Regions from separate parts of the Homo sapiens genome. Here region 2 is linked to region 1. Evidence: promoter capture Hi-C in 16 types of primary human blood cells and fetal thymus (Javierre and others, 2016). All regions are on one chromosome and are shown on one strand. Each heading gives the region's core, a stretch centred on a gene start or on the middle of the fragment in contact. The rest is flanking DNA. Distances are from core to core; before and after follow the strand shown. Region 1 holds the start of APH1B (aph-1B gamma-secretase subunit). Region 2 overlaps USP3 (ubiquitin specific peptidase 3).

What was found. Contacts are between HindIII fragments. The CHiCAGO score rates a contact against its expected background, and 5 or more counts as called.
Region 2: a contact is called between a fragment that was not itself captured here and the fragment with the promoter of APH1B in region 1, in 1 of 17 cell types (neutrophils). The highest score is 7.4, in neutrophils.

Annotation. Positions count from the first base shown.
Region 1 is chr15:63,274,694-63,279,125 of GRCh38, reverse strand. It overlaps APH1B (aph-1B gamma-secretase subunit), which reads right to left and starts at 1,521. Exons shown (of 6, transcript NM_031301.4): 1 at 1,390-1,521. The coding sequence starts at 1,502. It overlaps LOC124903504 (a long non-coding RNA gene), which reads right to left and starts at 4,020. Exons shown (of 2, transcript XR_007064674.1): 1 at 3,764-4,020; 2 at 2,274-3,108. RefSeq lists silencers at 1,215-1,494, 1,575-1,994. The HindIII fragment of the contact is 9,433 bases long and covers 562-4,432 here.
Region 2 is chr15:63,576,751-63,581,121 of GRCh38, reverse strand. The region is part of intron 11 of USP3 (ubiquitin specific peptidase 3); the gene reads right to left. Among named protein-coding and RNA genes, the nearest start is that of FBXL22, 18 kb to the left of the region's middle. The HindIII fragment of the contact is 5,059 bases long and covers 1-4,100 here.

The DNA of each region.
Region 1 (4,432 bases), core at 272-2,771:
TCAGTACAGGATTAATAATGTTTAAAAGCAGGAAAAAAAAAAAAACCTGCTTGAGAAGGAAGAGATTTCTTGACGTTTCAATAAGGAAAAGAAAGTCCTCATAAAGTGATACTCTGATCAGTTGTTCTTAACGGTGCATTTTCCTTGGTGAGACAAACGTGTCCAAGAGGAAGGCTGAGGTTTCCCAACAATTACTTTTTTCAATGACCCTGCTACTTGCAAGTACATCTGCAGACTCTATCTGCCAAGGACTATCTAGCTAGAAACTTGGTTATTTGCTACTCTTTCTAATCAATGCTCTGCCCATTGATGAGCCAAAACAAGAAAATACACAACCCTGATTACTGCAATTTTCATATTCTTAAAACTTACAAGAAATTATGGATTTACTGATCAGATATCTGCAAAGATGAGTATCTTTTCCAGAAAAATATCTACATCTCTATTAATAAAGTGACTGGTATAAAATTCAACTTGAAAACCTGTGTTCTGATCTGGATCAGTATCCAAGCCCTCCAGGTCTTACAGCACCCCTGGGGATTCTAATGATTATAGCAAGCTTTACAGACCCTTCCCAAATCTCTATTATTTTTAAAATGACATGCAGCGAAGCACTTTCAATACGTTTGTGGGAGGTGAAGAAACGCAGAAAAGCGGGAATCATTGGCCTAGTCTGGTGCCAAGAGAGACTCATCAGAGGAGGGGGGATGTGGTATGTGCAAGTAAGAGGCAGGTGATGACTGCGATGGGACACCAGAGTCCGGTATTTACCAAGCTCCCAGAAGGAGACGCACAGTCAGGTGCTTCGGTGTTTTTACAGGTTTCCACCCTTCGGCTGCACAACGGAACCATCCAAAAGGAGCTTAAATTTTTTTTTTTTTTTCTGAAGCCCGAATCCCATCCCCTAGACATTCTGATTCAATGGATCGGGGTGGGGGTGGGCATCGGCATGTTTTAAAGCACCTGGCCACAGGTGATTCTAATAGGCGGAAGTCGCGCACTACTATCCTAAACGCCAATGGTTTTTAACCCTTTGGGGATTACACATGCCTTTGAGAATCTGAGGGAAATTAGGGACTCCCCCTCCAGAAAATGAAGGATGCATATATGAACTTATCCATAATTTTTTTATACAACTTTAGTAGCTTCACGGATCACTAAACCCCACCCATGAGCCCCAGGCAAAAGGCCCTGACCCCCAGTGTGCGCTTCTTCCTAAGAGGGCGAGGCGCCTTTGGGGAGCCGGATCTCCGCTCTCCCCCTCTCAACCCTCCTCCCGTCTGAAACGCAACAAGGTCGAGCCGCGCGGTGGGGGCGCCGAGGGTCGCGGGTAACCCCAGCGGGGGAGGGGAGCCCCGGCGTCCGGGTTTCCCGACGCGACCGCCTCACCCGGCGATGAGGAAGATGATACGCAACGGCTCGGTGGCGATGGTGAAGACATAAAGGGCGAGCGCAGGCCCGAAGGCAATGAAGGCGCAGCCGAAGAACACGGCCGCAGTCATGGCCACCGCGGAAACCGACCCGGGGGCCCGTTGGGGACGCGAGATGCTCCCGGCGCGGGCGGGGTTCGGTGGGTGGGGCTCGGGGTGGGGGGCTAAGCGGGACGCGGGGGGCGGGGCGCGGCTCATGGGCAGGCACGGGGACGGGGGCGGGGCTCGGGGGCGGGGCACGTGGGGGCGGGGGCGGGGCTCGGAGGCGGGGTACGTGGGTCGCGGGGCGAGGCGGGGCGTGGGGGTAAACGCTAGGGCCTGGGGGACTGGGCGGGGCGTGGGCTGAGGGCGCCGGGCGCAGGGGCGGGCTCAAGGCGGTGAGCGCGGACCCCACCGTTGGGCCCTCCGCCCTACCGGGTGTCCGGAAGCGCCAGGGCCACGCCGCAGCTCCTGCTCCCGAGGCGGGCGTCCTCGGCGACGTTAGGGCCCCAGCCATCGCCGCAGCCCCACAGATACACTCCGATCGGGTTCCAGTGCCGGCCGCGAGGTGGTTAAGAGAAGGGAAGCTCCCTAGCCCACCTTCGAGCCGCATGCACCGAGAACAGGCAGAGATTCCAAGTCAACCAAAGAGACTAAACAAAAATGTAGCGCAGGAACAAGCAGGATTCCTTTTTAAATAGGTTTTTTTTTTTTTTTAAGCACATTTTACCGTTTGGATAGTTGCGGGAACTTCGTACTCCATCCTGTATAAAACCTAGGCTGGGATAGCAGTGACCCCGGGGATAACCCACAGATGGTAAAATGATGAAAGAGTGGTGGAAGAAGCTGCCCTTCTCAGGGCTGTTTCAGCCAAATGGTTTTTATTTTTTTCCCAATTCTTCAAAAGGGTTGTTTTTGCAGGCATTCTGTGACCACCCTACAAGCAATAGTAACATCTCCCTGCTCCGTCTTCTCACAGTCGTCCATTTCACTTGCTTATTTTTCTTCCCCGTTAAAACGCGAACTCCTGGGGGACAGGGACTTTGCTTTGCTCTTTGTTGTTTCCTCAGCACCTAGAAGTTCACTAATATCTGTTCAATAAGTGAAATAATTTAAAAGGTGGAAGTTATAAACATCTATATTAACAATTTCTGAAAGGTTTAAAAATTAAAACTTAAGTTCTCTGATCATTCACATCCAAGTTAGATTTTTCTTTATGTTGAATAATACTTCGTCGGTTATTTTGATCAGTGTGCCTGACACAGGTAAGTGCTATGTAAGTATTAACCACTCCTACATAATGTCCATCATGAATAAAGATTTTGGCAATCCACATTTAAAAAAACACCAGTAGACAAATGTTGGGACCTGACAGATGTTTTGCAGCTCGCCCCTGAAAATGCACCTTCAAATAATACAACTGCAGGTATTTAATTCTTACAGAAAAACATTACCTTTGCCCATTTAAAAGTCATATATATTTCCATTCACTCCCACAGAATACTTCTTCAGATTCCAGTGATTGTATTTTGAATGGTCAGATCCCAGCACAATACCTATCAAAACTCGGGTCGAGACAACAGTTCAGAGTGATAGATCTGCTTTGTAAAGATATGGAAAATGAGCTTCCAGACTGGAGGTCCTCAGTGCAACGCAGGCATGAGATGGCAGTGGCCTGATTCAGGGAATTAGCAGGACTCTGGAGGGAAGCAGACAAATTTAATAGAAGTTTAGGAATTGTACAAACAGAATTTAGTGACTAATGAGCTACATAGAGTGAGATGGGGGAAGAGTCAAGGATGAGGGCTTCTAGAGGGTTCGGGCTTAAGTGGATGCTGTGGAGACAGGAGGAGGAGAGAATATGGCAAAGTAGACACGATAATGAGTACCATTTTGTTATTTTGTTGTTACTGTTTTGGAGACATAGTCTCACTCTGTCGCCCAGGCTGGAGTGCAGTGGTGTGATCTCAGCTCACTGCAACCTCTGCCTCCCGAGTTCAAGCAATTATCCTGCCTCAGCCTCCAGAGTAGCTGGGACTATAGGCACGCGCCACCATGCCTGGGTTATTTTCGTATTTTAGTAGAGACAGTGTGAACAATGTTGGCCAGGCCAGTCTCGAACTCCTGGCCTCAAGTGACTTGCCCACCTCGGCCTCCCAAAGTGCTGGGATTACAGGCATGAGCCACCGTGCCTGGCCTTCATTTTGGATGCCTTGAGACTGAGATACTTGTAGCACTCCAAATGGAGGTGTTCAGTAGGCAACTACATATACAGGATCAGGAGAGAAATGGACTGAACATCAGAGCTGAGACCAGAATACCTGAAGCCGTGAGAGTATATAGAATAGAATTACCTAGATAGCTAGTAAAGCCAGAACAAGGCCTATGTCAGAACACCAACATTAAAGGTATGAGGAGAAGAGGAACCTCATAAGAAACTGAAAAGGAGTGGCCAAGAGGGTAACAAGAAAACTGGGGGAATGTGGTGCTGTGGAAGCCAAGGGGAAAACATTTCAGAAAGAAGGGCTGTCGAGAGGTTAAGTAGCCATGCACAGTGGCTCACGCCTGTAATCCCAGCACTTTGGGAGGCTGAGGCAGGCGGATCACTTGAGGTCAGGAGTTTGAGACCAGCCTGGCCAACATGGTGAAACCCTGCCTCTACTAAAAATACAAAAATTAGCTGGGCGTGGTGGCAGACACCTGTAATCCCAGCTACTCAGGAGGCTGAGACAGAAGAATCACTTGAACCTGGGAGGCAGAGGTTGCAGTGAGCCAAGACTGCGCCACTGTACTCCAGCCTGGGCCACAGAGTGAGACTCCTCCATCTCAAAACAAACAAAAAACAAAACAACAACAACAACAACAAAAGCTACCAGTGAATTATGTCCACTGGATTTAGCCATACAGAGGTCATCAGTGACCCAGACATAGGGGTAAAAGGCAGTCTGTAAAATCTTCTCACATTAATGTGTGGTAAGAAAAAAAAGGAAAGAGGAAAAAATGGAGAAATTTAGCTTTAGAGG
Region 2 (4,371 bases), core at 322-2,821, 300 kb before region 1:
TAAAGAGTCTATTAGCAGCCAGGCACGGTGGCTCACGCCTGTCATCCCAGCATTTTGGGAGGCCGAGGCAGGCAGATCACTCGAGGTCAGGAGTCTGAGACCAGCCTGGCCAACATGGTGAACCCCATCTCTATTAAGTACAAAAATTAGCTGGGCATGGTGGCTCGTGCCTGCAATCCCAGCTACTCGGGAGGCTGAGGCAGGAGAATCGCTTGAACCTGGGAAGTGGAGGTTGCAGTGAGCCAAGATTGTGCCACTGCACTCCAGCCTGGGTGACAGAGCAAGACTCCATCTCAAAAAGAGTCTACTAGCTATCCAGTGTTCACATTTCAGTAAGGATCTGAGGAAGCTGCTTAATATTTCATTTGTACTTTACTGCATTTCCTAAAAGAAAAAATATATATTTATATAAATATTAAAATAAGTATATATGCATATATATTATATATTCATATATATATTATATATTCATATATATATGCACCACTTTCTGAAACTCTTAAGATTCTCAAAGATTTCAGGGCATGTATTTCACAACCGTCAGTCTTCCACATGATATAAACTGTTAAAACAGCATCTCTATGGAAAGCAGGAAATAAAGCTGGTTTGTTGAAGTTAGTTATTAGGTCAACTTTATATACTATATAAATTTAATTTAGCAAAGCAGTAGTTTGGAAGTATACATTAAGTTAATATGCATTTTTTACTATCCCCCAAATAGGTATTATAAAGGTGACACACATCGGTTAAAACAAATGAAAAAAATAATTCATAGTTCCATTTCCCTCCTGAATCCCACTTCCCTGAGATAATCACTGTGAACAGCACAGTGTATGCTGTTTAAGAATTTTAACACTCATATAAATGTTTTTTATCTTACACAAATGGAATTATTCCACACACATATTTCCATGGACAGTTTTTTACTACACAATATTTTGTAGCTATGTTTCTATGGCATAGTTACTGGTCAACTTTATCTTTCTTAATTGCCACATAATGCAATTTATTAAACCAGTGCCCTACTGGTGGACATTTAAATTGTTTGATTTTTTTCAATAACAAAGTGTTTAAAATCTTTTACACATACTATTGTCCACCCTTGTAAGTGAAATTAGTATGTCTAAGGAAATGCCTATTAAAAATGGTGATCACTACCTCCAAAAACAACCATGCCAATTTAGACTTATAACAACAACACGAGTGTCCTCTTCCACTGACATCCATCTTTACCCTTTTCACCAATCTTGTTTTACTTACATTTTCTTGAATATAAGTGAGGATTAACACTTTTTAGATGTTATAATGATCATTTATATCTTACTCATGTACTCTGCCCAAGTCACCTTTTTCATATATGTCCAAATATTTGTCTCAAGTTTATCATCTCTTTTCCACTTTGTTTATGGTCTTTTACCATTGCTCAATTAAATTTATGAAACGTTTCCCATTATAGGTTCTGGCTTAGAAAGCTCTCCCCTATGACAAGATCATAATAAAGATGCTTTCCTATAGTGTCCTGTGGTTTTATGTTTCACATTTAAATATTGAAACCTCAAATTAATCAGGGAAAGGATATGAGGCAGGGAGGAAATTAATGTTTTCCCAAATTAATTTTCATTTACACTAACACCATTTATTGCCTAATTTCTTATTCGTCCCACTGATTTGACATTCTTTGGCATATTGTAAATTTGCATAAATATTTTACATTAGCACCTGCTCTATATTAGTAGTTCTAGGACATTTCCTATCCCACTGCTATGTTTCTACCTTACTTTCATTTTAGAAACTTCTTTAGCTCTTCTTGAGAATTTCTGCGTACAGAGGAATTTTTGAATAAATCAGAATAAATGTAGGGAGTAATTTGGGAGAAAATGGACATTTCTACCATATTGGGTCTTCCCATCCAAGAATATGATGTGGCTCTTTTTATTCAGGCTTTATCTGTCCTTTTATAATGTTTTATTAAAGTATTGCATATTCCTTATTAAATTTATTAAGTACTTTTGAGTTTTTATTGCTACTGTGAATAGATTATTTTGCTACATACAGAAAGCCAGCTGGCTTTTTGCCTGAACTTTTTAGCTCCATGTTTATAATATATTTATCAAAGTATTACTTGTGTTTGATTTTTTAAAAATTGAGGGCTTCTAGAAAAGCAGGTGTCCTCCTGCCTAGTCTCACTCTCCATGGCAATAGTTGTTAATATTTCTCGTAATTTTCCAACTGATTATCCTGAAATGTTCTAGGTATATAATCAATCTGCCTGCAAATGTTAATAATTTGGTCATTCTATAATTTATTCTTATTTCTTTTCCTAGTTTATTGCCTTGTTCCTCCAGAAGACATCTGAGCAATATTTCAGTAGGCCTCCTGGCTTATTCCTGGCCTTACTGGAAAATCATCAGTGCTTCACCATTAACTATGATGATCACTGATAGCTTTTAATGAATAATTGTCATCAAGTTAACATTTCTTTTTTTTTTCTTCTTTTTTTTTTTTTTTCTGAGACGGAGTCTTGCTCTGTCGCCCAGGCTAGAGTGCAGTGGCGCCGTCTCGGCTCACTGCAAGCTCTGCCTCCCGGGTTCACACCATTCTCCTGCCTCAGCCTCCTGAGTAGGTGGGACTACAGATGCCTGCCACCATGCCCAGCTAATTTTTTTTTTTTTTGTATTTTTAGTAGAGACGGGGTTTCACCGTGTTAGCCAGGATGGTCTCTATCTCCTGACCTCGTGATCCACCCGCCTCGGCCTCCCAAAGTGCTGGGATTACAGGCTTCAGCCACCACGCCTGGCCAAGTTAACATTTCTATTCCTAATAAAAGTTTTTTCTTTTCTTTGTTTTTGAGACAGAGTGTCACTGTGTTGTCCAGGCTGGAGTGCAGTGGCACGATCTCGGCTCACTGCAACCTCCCTCCCCGGTTCAAGCCATTATTCTGCCTTGGCCTCCCGAGGAGCTGGGACTACAGGCACATGCCACCGTACCTGGCTAATTTTTGTATTTTTAGTAGAGATGGGGTTTCTCCATGTTGGCCAGGGCTGGTCTCGAACTCCTAGCCTCAAGTGATCTGCCCGTCTTGGCCTCCCAAAGTGCTGGGACTACACTGCACCCACCCCTTTCTTCTCCTTTTAATCAGTAATATATTTGGGATTTTATCAGTATCTATTTGGACTTTTTTTTTTTTTTTTTTGAGGCAGGGTCTCACTCTCTCACCCAGGCCTAGAGTACAGGAGCAGTGCAGGCTCAATGCAGCCTCCAACTCCTGGGCTCAAGTGATCCTCCTTGCCTAAGCCTCCCAAGAAGCTGGGATTATAGGCATATACCACCATGCCCAGTTAATTTTTCTTATTATTTTATTTATTTATTTTGAGACGGAGTCTCGCTCTGTCACCAGGCTGGAGTGCGGTTGCACGATTTCAGCTCACTGCAACCTCTGACTCCCTGGTTCAAGCTATTCTCCTGGGTCAGCCTCCCAAATAGCTGGGGTTACAGGTACTCCCCACCATGCCCAGCTAATTTTTGTATTTTTAGTAGAGACGGGGTTTCACCATGTTGGCCAGGATGGTCTCGATCTGACCTCATGATCCGCCTGCCTTGGCCTCCCACAGTGCTGGGATTACAGGCGTGAGCCACCACGCCCGGCCTTCTTTTCTTTGTACAGACAGGGTCTCACTATGTTGCCCAGGCTGGTCTCAAACTCCTGGGGTCAAGCAATGCTCCCACCTTAGCCTTCCAAAGTGCTGGGACTACAGGCATAAGCCACTGTGCCTAGGCATTTGGCCTATTAGGGCATTTTGATTTGTTTTCACCTAATTATATTTCTAGTATTAAATCAGTCCTATTTGATCTCTGAATATTATTGTTTTAGTACACTGCTGAGTTGTATTTGCTAATACTTTATTTAGGATTCTTCGATCTATAATATAAGTGAGATCAAACTACATTTTCTTTTTCATGGTATCTGTCAGGTTTTAGAACTGGGGTTATTTAATGCCTTTTGCAATATGCGTATTTTTAGTTAATTTCAAAAGTTACTTAAGTTATTTAAGATGGGTCTTTCTCACCATCACTTTTCCTTTCTAAAGGAAAACTAAGCTTAACAATTACAAATCCAAAAAGTACACAAGTAGTTCTTGCCAGGTGGACTCAAAGCACGTAGAAGACATACTAGGTAATCACAAGTCTCCATCTCCAGTAAATAAAGAAAGGTGTATCAGTCAACTGAAGTCCATGACATTCTGGATGTCCAAGAAGAGAAGTGCCCTTAATGATAAGGGTGGTCAACAAAAACACAGTGAGGAGGTACCAGACCCTGTCATCGACTTTTTAAAGCCGACAATAAGCTCTTAAATAAAAATCAAGCCTGAG